2 separate regions of the Homo sapiens genome follow, and region 2 is linked to region 1. The links are contacts of gene promoters, found by promoter capture Hi-C in human tissues and cell types (Jung and others, 2019). All regions are on one chromosome and are shown on one strand. The core of a region is centred on a gene start or on the middle of the fragment in contact, and the rest is flanking DNA. Distances in the headings are between cores, read along the strand shown. Region 1 holds the start of RGS4 (regulator of G protein signaling 4). Region 2 has its middle 29 kb from the start of RGS5-AS1.

Region 1 (6,910 bases), core at 3,244-5,743:
CTAAACTCCTCTATGACCTTCAAACATTCCACTTGCTTTTATTCTTTATGGTTGTGATGGCATAGAGGTCAATAGCAAAGACCCTGGAGTCCCACTGTCTGAGCTGGCATAACATTACTACCACTTAATCAATGTGTAAGCTCAGGTAAGTACTTAAGTCCTCTATGCTTCATCTGTAAAATGAGAATCATTGAAGAACATTCTCTCAGGATGGATCATGAGGAATAAGTGAATTAACTGGCATATAGTGCTTAAACCAGTGCCTTGCTCAGTTAGTGACAGATAAAATCATCTGTTATTACTGTGCCCACTATTGTGATGCTCTTCTCTTCTTTGTACAACGACTACATCTCTATTTATCATTTTAGGGTCTCCTTGTGAAAAACCACTCCAGATTCAAAAGATTGAGTTTAATCTCTATCCTCTGTGCTTTCCTGGAGTTTTGTAAAGTAAATCTTCACTTGACATCATGGATAGGTTCTTGGAAACTACAACTTCAAGTGAAAGGACATAACTAAACCAATTTTTTTCTCATCAACGTTATAATGAAATGGCATTGATGAAATGATGGCATTCAAGGACCTGCTGTACCTTGTTTCACTTAAAGTCACTGTTTCCAATAATCTATTGATGACATTGAGGACTTACTATATAATAATAAATATATATATAATCGACGAAACAGGAATCAAACTGCTAACTCTGCTAACTGGTCTCCCTGCTTCCACACTCTGCCCACTCATCTCAGTCTTTCTTTCACAAGAGTCAGAATGATCAGATGAGACCCCTCCTCTGCTTCTGTTTCTTCCATGGATTTCCACTGCACTCTGATAAAGTCCAGCCTCTTGACCACAGCCTACAAATCCTTGCACGATCTATCGTTTACTTTTCCATCTCCTTTTATGCTACTTTCATCTTGTTCTCAATTCTCTAGCTATGCTGGCCCCTTCTTGTTCTTTCCCATTTTTTTTTAATTTTTAAAATTTGTATATATTTATGGGTTATAAGTGAAATCTTTTTAGATGCATAGGTTGTATAGTGATAAAATCAGGGCTTTTAGGGTATTCATCACCTGAATGATGTACATTGTACCCCTTAAGTAATTTCTCACCATCCGCTGACTTCTTGCCCCCTGGGTATTCATCACCTGAATGATGTGCATTGTACCCCTTAAGTAATTTCTCACCATCCGCTGACTTCTTGCCCCCTGGGTATTCATCACCTGAATGATGTGCATTGTACCCCTTAAGTAATTTCTCACCATCCGCTGACTTCTTGCCCCCTCATCCTTCTGAGGCTCCATTGTCCATCATTCCACACTCTACATCTATGTGTACACATTATTTAGCTCCTACTTATAAGTGATAACATGCAATATTTGTCTTTCTGTGTCTGTCTTGTTTTACTTATGATAATGGCCCCCAGTTCTATCTAGGCTGCTGCAAAAGGCATGATTTCATTCTTTTTTATGGCTATGTTCTTTCCCAATTTAGATAAAGAACACTCGCACTTGCTCTTACTTCTATTTGGAATACTAATTCCTAGGCTTCTTGCATTGCTTTCTCCTTCTCACCCATCAAATCTCATTTTAGATACCACCTCTTCAAAGAGGGCTTTCCTGACCACCTTGGCTGAATTAGCCCTTCACCATCTGATTACTCTCTAGCACATCACCTGCCCATTTTATTCATGGTACAGGTCAAAATCTGGAATCACCTGATTTGTTTATTTTCTGACTCCTTCTACTGAGATGAAAACTCTACTAGAGCGGAGATTTTATCTGCTTGTATCAGGTACTGCTTCAAACAGCACCTGATACAGAGTAGGTGGTCAAAAGATATTTCTTAAACAAATGAACAAATAAAAAGTAGATCTTTTGAGAGTAAAGCTCTTCCACACTACCAGAGTCATTCAGGAATGACAAATCATAGAATAACAGAATTTGATGCTTTGTGCATATCAGAGAAAGAAGGTGGAAGGTTGTCAAGGTATCATGATGTACCAGTCCTCGCCTCCTCAAACACAATCTGCAAGTCCCACAGTGAAAAAGTAAGTTAACTCATGTGAAGCGTTTTACAAACACTTTTTTAAAAGTCTTAAAACTCCTAAGAAAGCAAGATTTAATAGTCAAAGAAGTGAGTAAACATGAAATGCCTGAACAGAGTAATGAGCTAAGCACAAAGTTAGAGACATGTTAGTTAATATGTCTTGAAAGCAGCAGCTCCTGCTTTCAAGGAGCAAGAACAAATTGGGCAAGTGAACACTCCTTGAATAAAATGTGTAAAATTAATTTTGGGTTATGTTCTATACTGTGTATAATAGAATGATAAAAATTATTTGACTAGCACTTTGTAGTTTAGAAATATCTCTATTTACACAGTTTACCTTATTTGATAAGACTGTTGAGTGATGGGATAGCATGGTGGACAATCCACATAACTGAGTATCGAGACACCTGTATCTGGACCCAGCTCTGTTAGTAAGAAGCTGTAACCTCAGCAAGTCACTTTCTCTTTCTGGGTCTCTATTTCCTTTTTGGTGAAATGAGAGTGTTAGGCTAGATTGCCTTTGAAGTCCCATTTTGTCTTTAAAGTCCCATCTATTGCAGTGATTTATATTTAACTCATGACAAATCAGGCTTCTCTTATTCTAAGTGCAAGACATAAAACTTTTATTGTGGAATTTCAGGCATCAGTAAATCTTTTTGGGTACTCACTTATGTTCCTGAAATCAATCTATTTGAGTGATCACTCTTTTAGGTGCCCAGGTAAACAAAGAAGGCCATGGTCTTTCTTTGAGTGACCTTCTTTCCCTTTTAATTAGTCTGACCTCTTTAATGTCAGTTCTGACTGATTCATTTCCCTGGTCCATCTTCCTTGGTCTGAGGGCCTTCCTAGTTTCATATTGCACTTCAGTTCCTTCCACACCACCATCAAGGATGGCTGTCAACATTCATTTGTTCTATGTTATAATTCAAGGAAAAGTTGCCCAGTAGCTAATCCAATAAATGCCCTCTTATGGGCGGCTAGAGACTTTTTCCTATAATTTAAATGCATCTTCTGTAGATTATGGTCCCTCCACCACTTTACATTTGTCTGCTGTCTCCTTGCTCTGCTAGTCATGGAACGTGTTGGTAGTGGGGGCAGTGTGGGATGTTCAAGGGCACGTATTGGGTAGGGCCACATATGGGCATTGCTTTGTGCCATTCTTTCTATATTTTTGGTATTTTGCATCTCACTGGAACCCAACTATTTTTCATCTCTTCCACCTAAACTATTTGATGCCTCTGTTTCTTATATATAAAGTATAGCTCACTGTAGCCTATGATCAGGAACCTATCTGCTTTCTAAATGAAAGCTGTTTTGGTCAGATCTAGCAATTAATTCCCTTCTTCCACTTATAGCTTTCCTCTGTAACTCTGGTGTAGGTATTTGGTTTATGGCTATAAGATGTGAAACACCTGAATGATTCTGTCCATGCAGGCATTTCAGTTCATGATATTGTATGTAAAAGATACTGATTGTCTAGGTGTTCAGAAACACCTATAGGGCTTAATATTCTTACAATCAGTTTGAAGGCTGGTGATACGCAAAGCAAACTACATATTTTTCTGCCTGCTCTCTCTCTTTCTCTCTACATCTCTCTTTCTTTATCTTTTGAAATATCAGTTTGGAGACTTAGAATTACATAAGACATAAACCCATTTGATATAAGAATTGCTGTGTATATTTGCTCATCTACTCCCTCCTTTGGTCCTCGAGCTGCCGGTTTAGACTTTTTACAGGACGCAGGCATGTGAAGGAGAAACTGTCAGTGCTAGGCTGAATTCTGTTGTTACCAAGATTTCTAGAAAAGTATTCCTCAGTCAGGTTGATTACAGATATAGCAAATCTATTTTTCCTAGGGTAGTTTCTGTATGCTGCCGGGCTTATAACTGTCTGTCATCCAGCTATTTCTCTCCACCTTCTTGTTTGCATAACAACCAAGGCAACTTCCGCAAATCACTGCGTGGAGACGATGATCCTGCCAGCTCCCTTTTGGAAATCGTGAGGATCAGATCTTGGACCATGTATAATATGATGCTTCTAATCCAAAAGAGGAAAGGCATTGGGAGTCAGCTCCTAAGTAAGCTCCAGAATTCCTGCTGGTACTTTTCCTTCCAGGAAGCAACTTCCTTGATATTTTTTTTTTACAGGCATATGAATAAAAACTATATTTTGCAGCATTGTACACTTTTTTTCCTTTTCTAGAAATTCTAAACCTCTGACATTGGTGGAGACATTGAGTACATTTTTTCCCATATCCCTACTTTTCAGAAGGATTTTCTCTGCTCGTTCACTTAACATTGCTGATGCGTCAGTCTTTTCTTCCTCATCTCTTTCAGGGGCTGGAGAGGCAGAGGGAGACAGAGGAGCTGGTACTGCAGAGCGGTCGTCTGATTGGCTGGACGGTCGTAGCTGGGCTATAAAAGAGACCCCTACAGGCTTAGCAGGAAGACGCTCAGAGGATTCTGACAATATCTTTACCGGAGAAGAGGCAAAGTACGCTCAAAGCCGAAGCCACAGCTCCTCCTGCCGCATTTCTTTCCTGCTTGCGAATTCCAAGCTGTTAAATAAGATGTGCAAAGGGCTTGCAGGTCTGCCGGCTTCTTGCTTGAGGAGGTAAGATTGCTTTCAGCCATTAACCATATTAAACTTTTGGCTAGACTTTCTCAGTTATTTACATGTTGTACTTACTAACCTAGTTCTGTGCAATTAGAAACAGTGTGGTCAGGAGAGCACGACTTTCTAACTTTCCTCCAAGACTAGCTAGATATTGTGACTTAAGACATGTGCTCCCCAAATTTCAGCCCTTATGTGTTGTTTTGTGTGACCTCAGTTTTGAGAACTGTTCTATTCTTTAAGCCAGGTCTAAGAAAGCTAGTTTTAATTAAGAAGCGAGATGAGGTTTGAGGCTATGTACAGTGATCTGTAATATCTCCATCTGTGATTACTACTGCTATTTGAGCATCCCTGGAGTACATAGAAGCCTGGCTCTGGGCTTTCTGATTGTATGCTACAACTTGTTTCAGGAAAGGTACCCCAGAATGAGGTTTGGCTCCATCATCAGAAAGGCACTATGCTTTCCGTGTGGTGGTGCAGTAACTTTCACTCTCTATGTTCTTATAAGCAAATGTTACAATGAGATATGAGTTTTAAAGCCAGATCTTCCTTATCTCTCTGCCCCATCTCTAGTTCTTGAAGTGTCTCATATGAGTTTGGTTGAGAAATATTGATCATTACAAATCAGTTAATAGTTTTGTAGAAGATCTCATCTTAAAGACATTGTTTTGTTAATATACTCCCTTGATTTTTTTAAAAGACCTTACAGACATACAGCTATTCATTTGTTTTTGGTTTGTTCAAAAAAGGTATAAAGAAATGCATTCAGAGAAAGATCATATATTAGCCAGTTGAAAATTAAACACAAAATGAGTGCATATTACATTACTTAATCTTGCAGTCAAAGGTAAAAAGTCAACCTAAAGGTATACTACCTGCTTTCTTATCGCACTGCAAATAGAAATTACCACAAATTTTATTTTGGAAATAATCTCAGAAAACATAATTTTTTATGTACTATTAAAACATTTACTTTCCAAATATTCTGTCATTCAGGAGTATGGAAGTATCGATGGCTTCTTTAAAATGAAGCAGGAGGGTCTGGCAGAGAGTATCTATGAAATAAGTTCCTCTGACCTTCACGCTTAATTTTCTGAATGGAGTGGAGCAAATTACTTCAAGCTTCACTTAACTTGCATATGAAATGAACCGTACAAAAATACAAGAGTGTCAGGAGAAAGTTATGCTCTGGTAAATATTTTGCAAAACAGATAAAAGATAATACTAGAGCTCTGTCCTCAAAGAGTTAAGCAGCTAATCTAAGGAGGTAAACTCTATGTCAGCAGGATGAACTGCTCTTCCCTTTCCTCCTCAATAAATTGCAAATCATCTAGTCCAACATCTTTACCACCAGTGCCTGAGGCTCCAGAGGAGCCATTGCCTTCTCAAGGTCACATAGGTGGTGGGTGAGTTAGGACCAAATCTAGAATTCCTGACTCCAGTAACTTCTGAAGTCATTTTGTTTTTTATTTTTATGGTTTTATTATAAGAATACTTGCTAAGCACACTTACCCCCTGCATTGATTAATAACTCTAGGATCTCAGGTGGATCCAGCACATAGAAATATGAATTCGTTTCTATTTGGACTTCATGATATATTTACATTATCACCTTGGAATCACCCTAACATTCAGGATTGTATCTTGTTATAATCAAAAAGGATGTTGCATCCCCTGAACAGTCATCAGTCAGGGAAGCAGAGGAGGGAAAGTAATCTTGCGAGGAAGAGAAAATACTATTTAAGGGACAGTCAGAGAACATAATGGAATTCAAACTTTCTGGGAAAACCTACATACATAAATGTATTAGTGGCCATCCTAAATGTCTTTATATCTTTGAGGCTTTATTTTCCCTACTCCAAATAGACACATTTAGTTATTCATTTCTTTTAAAATGGTATTTCTCTTTTTAAACTATTTCTTGACTTTTTTAATAAAAAGAGATGCAAGCAAGAGGATATTTAATAAAAAGTAAGAGAGTTGAGCTTAAGGCTTATTAAAAGACCCCCTTTTTCTAGTTAGTCAGGAGCTCTAATGTGCCCTGGCTACCTATTAAATGGTGGCAATAAACTGGAAGCTCAGTGATGACTCTAGCCTGCTTCTCCTAATAGCTGTTAAGCCTCAAATGCCCTTTAGAGTGTGTATGTCCTTTAAAGTAGCTATTAAGAAGGAAAGCAGCAGCAGCAGATATTGTCTAGAAAGAAGCCCCAAGAAGCTGAGGTTTCAGCTTGGGCATTTGTTTTCGCCAT
Region 2 (6,910 bases), core at 2,805-5,304, 64 kb after region 1:
ACAGTGACCTGCAAGGAGGCAACAAGGATAGACAATAAAGAAAGGGTAGTATTTTCAATAAATGATGTCAGAAAAACTGGATATCCATACGTAATAGAATAAAATTGGCCCTTGACCTTATACCATAAACAAAACTTTACTTGAAATGAATTAAAGACTTAAATATAAGACACTAACTTGTAACACTCCTAAAAGAAAACTAAGAACAAAGCTCCTGGACGTTGGTCTGGACAGTGACTTCTTGGACATGACACCAAAAGCACAGGCAACAAAAAGCAAAAATAAACAAATGGGACCACATCAAACTAAAAAGTTTCTGCACAGCAAAGGAAGCAATCAACAAAATTAAAAGGCAACCATTGAAATGGTAAAAATATATGTCATTATTTTAGAGATAATGTACTAGGCAAAAGGAGTCAATCTTAATTTGGAAGGGTATTGTCAGAATATCTCCATTAATCAGTGACCCTTCAGTTGAGCCTTTAAAGAATGGCTCACCTGGGAGAAGATGGAGAAAGTTCATGCAAGTAAGGAGAATGCATTGCATGAGGAGTGAGGAGAGTAAGAGTGATTGTTTGCAGTGCAGCACCTGTTTAACTCATTCAAGTAGGAGGTAAATGGTAGTGACAATGTAGTATGGATATACCATGAAATTCATCTACTGTGCTGCACTATACAGGGAGGGCCATTTGGGGCCCCCTCCTTGAGGATTCCACAGTCATGAGCTCTAGCATGTCACTTATCACATTATGTTGGAACTGTTTATACATATATCTTTCCAAATAAATGCCAAGCTCCTTGGAAATCAGGGATTGGATTTACTTCATATCTGTATTCCTAACTTGCATAGGACTTGGCACATGGTTGGCATTCAATAAAGGCATGTATATTAAACAACTGTGATGAATGCTACACTTGAGTTCAGAACAAAGTGTTAAAGTGCAGAAAAGCATGAAGCCACTGGCTTTGCTGAGTGTTGGCAAAGGTTTCCTAAGCAGTAATATCCATAATGATCAGATCAAAATCTTTTTGTTTATCCTACTAGACTGCAACTTTCTAAAATAAAATGTTTTAGGCATAATGTGACTTATTCCATAGATGCCTCAGGATCTAGAAAATTCAGCTGCTTGTCTCTTGAAGCTTAGGAATGCATGTTTCTACAGCTGCTGACTTGTTAACATTACTAGGGTTATATGAACTTGGCCTGTCTGGGTTGAGTTACAGCTGGGCTGGAAGAAATATATTTTCTAAACTCAAAATCAGAACACATAGTCTGACAAGTGCATTTCTGGAAAAAACAGAGTAAGATATTTAAAATGGCAACTGTCTTGGAAAATCTCTGTAACCTCCAGTTGCTATTAGCATAGCCTATTACTTACTTGTGCCTAAGAATGTGTGAATCCCTTTGATTCCTGTGGGATATAGTCTGTGGTTGATAAGAGTGAAATTGGAGCTGGATAGGATTCAGTGGAATAGTGAATAAATGAGGAATATCAACAAAAAGTGGATAGGAAGGGAAAAAAGAACAGGCACTCTGCACATAAAAATTACACGTTTTCTAAAATAAGTAAAAGAGAAAATACAGGGCTTCTTCAGTGTAAAATAACTTTGTTTGACGATCAAAAAAAAAGGCGTAATAAAATTAAGAGAGGAAAGAATGGAAAACAATAAACTCAGTGTTGATAGCTCCCAAGGATCCAACTTGGCTCCTTTCTAGCTGCATGAACATGGAATTATCACTGACTCTCTCTGAGGTTTAGTTCCTGATATGGGTCTTGATGTTTGTCTCCTCCAACTCTCATGTTGAAATTTAACCCTTGATATTGGGGATAGGACCTGGTAGGAGGTGTTTCGGTCAGGGGGAAGACATCTCATGAATGGCATGTTGCCCTCCTTATGGTAGTGAGTGAGTTCTCATTCTATTAGTTCACGTGAGAGCAGGTTGTTTAAAGAGCCTGGCATCTCCTCCCTTCTCTCTCTCTTTCTCCTGATTTTGCCATGTTATGTGCCTGCTTCTGCTTCATCTTCTGCCATGATTGAAAGCTTCCTGAGGCTCTCACCAGAAGCTGAGCAGATGTTGGTGCCATGCTTGTGTAGCCTGCAGAACTGTGAGCCAATTAAACCTCTTTTCTTTATAAATTACTCAATCTCAGGTATTTACAGTAATGCAAAAAGCAGACTAATACAGAAAACTGGTACTGAGAAGTGGGGCATTGCTATAAAGATACCTAAATATGTGGAAGCAGCTGTGGAACTGGGTAACAGGCAGAAATTGGAAGAGTTTGGAGGGCTCAGAAGAAGATGGGAAAACCAGGGAAAGTTTGGGATTTCTTAGAGACTTTTTCAATGATTGTGACCCAAATGCTGATAGAAGTATGGACAGTGAAGGTCAGGCTGAGGAGGTCTCAGATAGAAATGAAGAAGTTATTGGGAACCAGAGCAAAGGTCTCCCTTGTTATGCCCTAGCAAAGAGCTTAACTGAATTCTGTCCACATCTTAGGGATTTGTGGAAGTTTAAACTTAAGATTGATGACCCAGCTTATCTGGCAAAAGAAATTTATAAGTAGTAAATCATTCAAGAAGTGACCTGACCGCTTCTAACAGCCTATAATCATATATGGGAGTGAAGAAGTTACTTAAAGATTTATATTTAAAGGGGAAGCAGACCATAAAACTTTGGAAAATTTGAAGCCTGATCACATGGAAGAGAAAGAAAAAGCATTTTCAGGAGAAAAATACAAGTAGGATTCAGAGCACTCACTTGCTAGAGAGATTAGCATGACTAAAAGAGAGCCATTTCTAATATCCAAGACAATGGGAAAAAGGCCTTGAAGCCAATTAGAAGTCTTCAGGAAAGCCCCTCCCATCACAGGCCTAGAAGCCTTGGAGAAAAGAATGGTTTTGGCAGCCAGGCCTAGGGGGCCACTTCACTGCTCAGCTGCAGGACACTGTTCCCTCATCCTGGCTGCTCTAGCTCCCGCTGTGGGTCAAAGGGGCCTAGATACAGCTTGGGCTGCAGCTTTGGAGAGTGAAAGCCACCATAAGCCTCGGCATCTTTCACATGGTGTTACATCTGATGGCTTGCAGAATGCAACAGTGAAGGAGGCTTGGCAGCTTCCATCTAAATTTCAGAGTATGTATCAGAAACCCTGCCACAGAAGCAGAGTCCCCATGGAGAGACTCTACTAGGACAGCACCAAGAGGATCTGTGGGGTAGCCCCTAAATAGAGTCCCCCACTAGAACACTCCCTATTTGAGCTGTGGGAAGGGGGCAACCACCCTCCAAATGGTAGAGCCATTGGCGGCTTGCATTTGGAACCTACAAAAGCCTTAGGCATTCAATTCCAACCTGAGAGAGCAGCCATGGGGCCTGCACCCTGCAAAACTAAAGGAGCAGAGCTACCCAAGGTTTTGGGTGCTCACCTCTTGCACCAATGTGCCCTGGATGTGGACATTGAGTCAAAGGAGATGATTTTGGAGCTTAAAGATTTAATGACTACCCTGCAGAGTTCCAGATTTGTGTGGGGCCTATTGCACCTTCTTTTATGAATTTCTGTCTTTTGGAATGAGAATGTATATCCAATGCCTGTACCACCATTGCATCTTGGAAGTAAATAACTTGGTTTTGATTTTACAGGTTCATAGGCGGAAGGAGCTTGCCTTGAGTTTCAAATGAGACTTTGGAATTGATGTTGGCATGAATTAAGACTTTAGGGGACTCTTGGGAAGATATTACTGTATTTTGCAATGGGAGGAGGATGTGAGATTTGGAGGGCCAAGGGCAGGATGATATGGTTTGGATGTTTGTCTTCTCCAAACCTCATGTTGAAATGTAATCCCTAGTGTGGAAGGTGAGGTCTGGTGAGTGGTGTTTGGGTCAGGGGAATACCTCATGAATGGTGTGCTGCCCTCCTCATGGTAATGAGTGAGTTCTTATTTCATTAGTTCACACGAGAGCTGGTTGTTTAAAGAGCCTAGCACTTCCTCCCTTCTCTCCCTCTTGCTTCTGATCTTGCCATGTTATGTGCCTGCTCATACTTCATCTTCAGCCATGATTGGAAGCTTCCTGAGGCTCTCACCAGAAACTGAGCAGATGTTGGTGCCATGCTTGTACAGCCTGCAGAACCATGAGCCAATTAAAGCTCTTTTCTTTATAAATTACTCAGTATCAGGTATTAATTTATAGTAATGCAAAAATGGAATAATACAGTTTCTCATAAGAAAAATGGAGTAAAAATTCTTGTCTCATAAAATCACATGTGCAAGATATCTGGCATAGTATCCAACAAGAATATAAGCAAATTAAATTTGAAGTAAGAGGAATTTCTACCATAGAAATTAGAAAGAAGTAGTAGAAAGGACTCAAGTAGTAAAAAGAGGAAGTTCAGAAAAAGATAGCAAAGATTAAGCCCAAGAATAAATGATATAAACATATCAAAAAAATAAAATTGTGGAACATCAGAGACAGATTAGCTACAAAGACTCTGAAGGAAGAGAAACTGGACTTTGAAAGCTAATGAAATTACAAATGTAGAAATGATTTGGAAATGTAAAGGAAACATCCAGATGTATGAAGTCATTAAATACTAAAGTGAGACAACCATGAACAAAATGAGACAATATTAGGCTTCCATAAGTGGACATTAAAGCATAACCTCAAATGTTAGTAAAGAGCTCCAGACTTTGAGGAAACAAGAGTGGCAGATGGTCCAGCTGGCTGTAATCTGAGATCAAACACCTTTTTTAAACAAAGAAAGCTAGGCAAAGTCTTTGTATGCAAGCCTGAATGGCAGACTAAAGAACAGTCCTTCACATATGTGCTACTCTATCTTTCTCTTTTTTCTTAACCACTTAGATAAACTTTGAACCTGTTAGTGTTAATCTCTAATGAGAAGGATTTATTATTATTATTACTATTATTATTATTTTTAGAGCTGGGGCTTTGCTCTGTCACCCACACTGGAATGCAGTGGTACAATCATAGGTTACCACAGCCTTGAACATCTGGGCTCAAGCAGTCCTCCTGCCTCAGCCTCCTGAACAGCTAGGACTACAGGCACCCACCACCACACCCAGCTAATTTTTATTTTTTATAGAGATAGGGTCTTGCTATGTTTCCCAGGCTGGTTTCAAACTCCTGGCCTCAAGCATTCCTCCCACCTCAGCCTCCCAAAATGCTGGGATTACAGGAATGAGAAACTGTGCCCAGCAAGAATAACTCTAAAAGATTTTATATATATATACATATATATGTGTGTGTGTATATATATATATTTCATATATAAAATATATATTATCTAATATATACGTATTAGAGAAATGCAAATCAAAACCACAATGGGATACCATATGTATAGTATACATACACACACATTTATACCACAGATCTCCAATACAGAGCACACAGATGTCACCCAAGATTTTTTTCTGTCTCTATCACTGGCCCTGAAAAGGTTCTATAATGCTGAGTTTGTTAGCAGCACGCTGCAGAATCTGGTATAAGGAAGGAACTCCAGAGCTGGAGGTGGAGACCCATGCTCTAGGCTCAGCTCTGCCAGTACTATCCATGTGACTTTGCCAAGTCCCTTAAATTTTCTGAGTTTCAGACTTCTTATGTGTAAAATGAGCACTTGAATCCTATCTACTTTAACCAAGTCACAGAGTTGCGAAGATGATCAAGTGAAATACCATAGGGAAAAGTTACACAAAGAGTAGTTATTATTAGGTCATCGAGAAGACTGTGGTACTGAGGAGGCCAAAGCATCTGCAGTAGATGTCCAGTAGAACAGCTAACTGACCATAATTCTGTGTCAACTGGCTAAGTTATGTTCTAGGCTTTCAGAGCACAAGAACACCAGGAATAAGGCATGGTTCTATGTCTTTTTCTAGCTCACACTTAGGAAATGGCAGAAGGAAGGAGGTAGTGGGACAGAAATAAGGACATATTACTGCTGTCTCTCCTGGTGATACCTATTGCTTACTTTCTCTGATCATGTCCTAATGATTTACACCAGGAAGATAAAAAAGGAAGCAAATTGGCCTGGATGAGGATTTGAGAAAATAGCCTTATTTTACAGGTTAGAAAACCTTTTTCTTTATTTTATTTCATTTGCTCCTCATCACCTCACTGTGTTATAGAAATCTAGGTAGTTCCATTTTTGCAGATGAACAAAAAGAGGTTCAGGGAGTTAAGTTACTTGTGCTGCCCAAGATCACATAGAGAAAGAATCTACCCTACAACTAAAATTTTGTGACTCTGAGCCACATAATACTAATCCAGCTAGAGGGAGATGATGGTGGTAATTAGAAAAGCCATTCTTCCAGCCCTAAAGCCTCATATTACCTATACGCCATTTTTTTTTTTTTTTAGTTTTATTTTAAGTTCTGGGGTACATGTGCAGGATGTGCAGGTTTGTTACATAGGTAAATGTGTGCCATGATGGTTTGCTGAACCTATTAACCCATCACCTAGGTATTAAGCTCAGCATGCGTTAGTTATTTTTCCTAATGCCCTCCCTTCCTCCAACCCCACCCCGACAGGCCCCCAGTGTGTTGTTCCCCTCCCTGTGTCCATGTGTTCTCACTGTTCAGCTCCCAATTATAAGTGAGAACATCCAGCGTCTGGTTTTCTGTTCCTCCCTTAGTTTGCGAGGATAATGGCTTCCAGCTCTATCCATGTCCCTGCAAAGGATATGATCTCATTCCTTTTTATGGCTCCATAGTATTCCATGGTGTATATGTACCTCATTTTCTTTATCCAGTCTATTATTGGTGGGCATTTGGGTTGATTCCATGTCTGTGCTATTGTAAACAGTGTTGCAATGAACATATATGTGCATGCATCTTTGTAATAGAATGATTTATATTCCTTTGGGTGTATACCCAGTAATGGGATTGCTGGGTCAAAAGG

Evidence for each region. The method cuts DNA at HindIII sites, captures the fragments that hold promoters and counts their contacts. A contact is called where the count stands out against the background at its distance.
Region 2: a contact is called between a fragment that was not itself captured here and the fragment with the promoter of RGS4 in region 1, in 1 of the 25 tissues and cell types used here (heart right ventricle).

The regions. Positions count from the first base shown.
Region 1 is chr1:163,064,868-163,071,777 of GRCh38, forward strand. It overlaps RGS4 (regulator of G protein signaling 4), which reads left to right and starts at 4,494. Exons shown (of 5, transcript NM_005613.6): 1 at 4,494-4,661. The coding sequence starts at 4,618. The HindIII fragment of the contact is 8,323 bases long and covers 1-6,910 here.
Region 2 is chr1:163,129,262-163,136,171 of GRCh38, forward strand. No RefSeq gene overlaps it. Among named protein-coding and RNA genes, the nearest start is that of RGS5-AS1, 29 kb to the right of the region's middle. RefSeq lists an enhancer at 2,571-3,145. The HindIII fragment of the contact is 4,926 bases long and covers 1,592-6,517 here.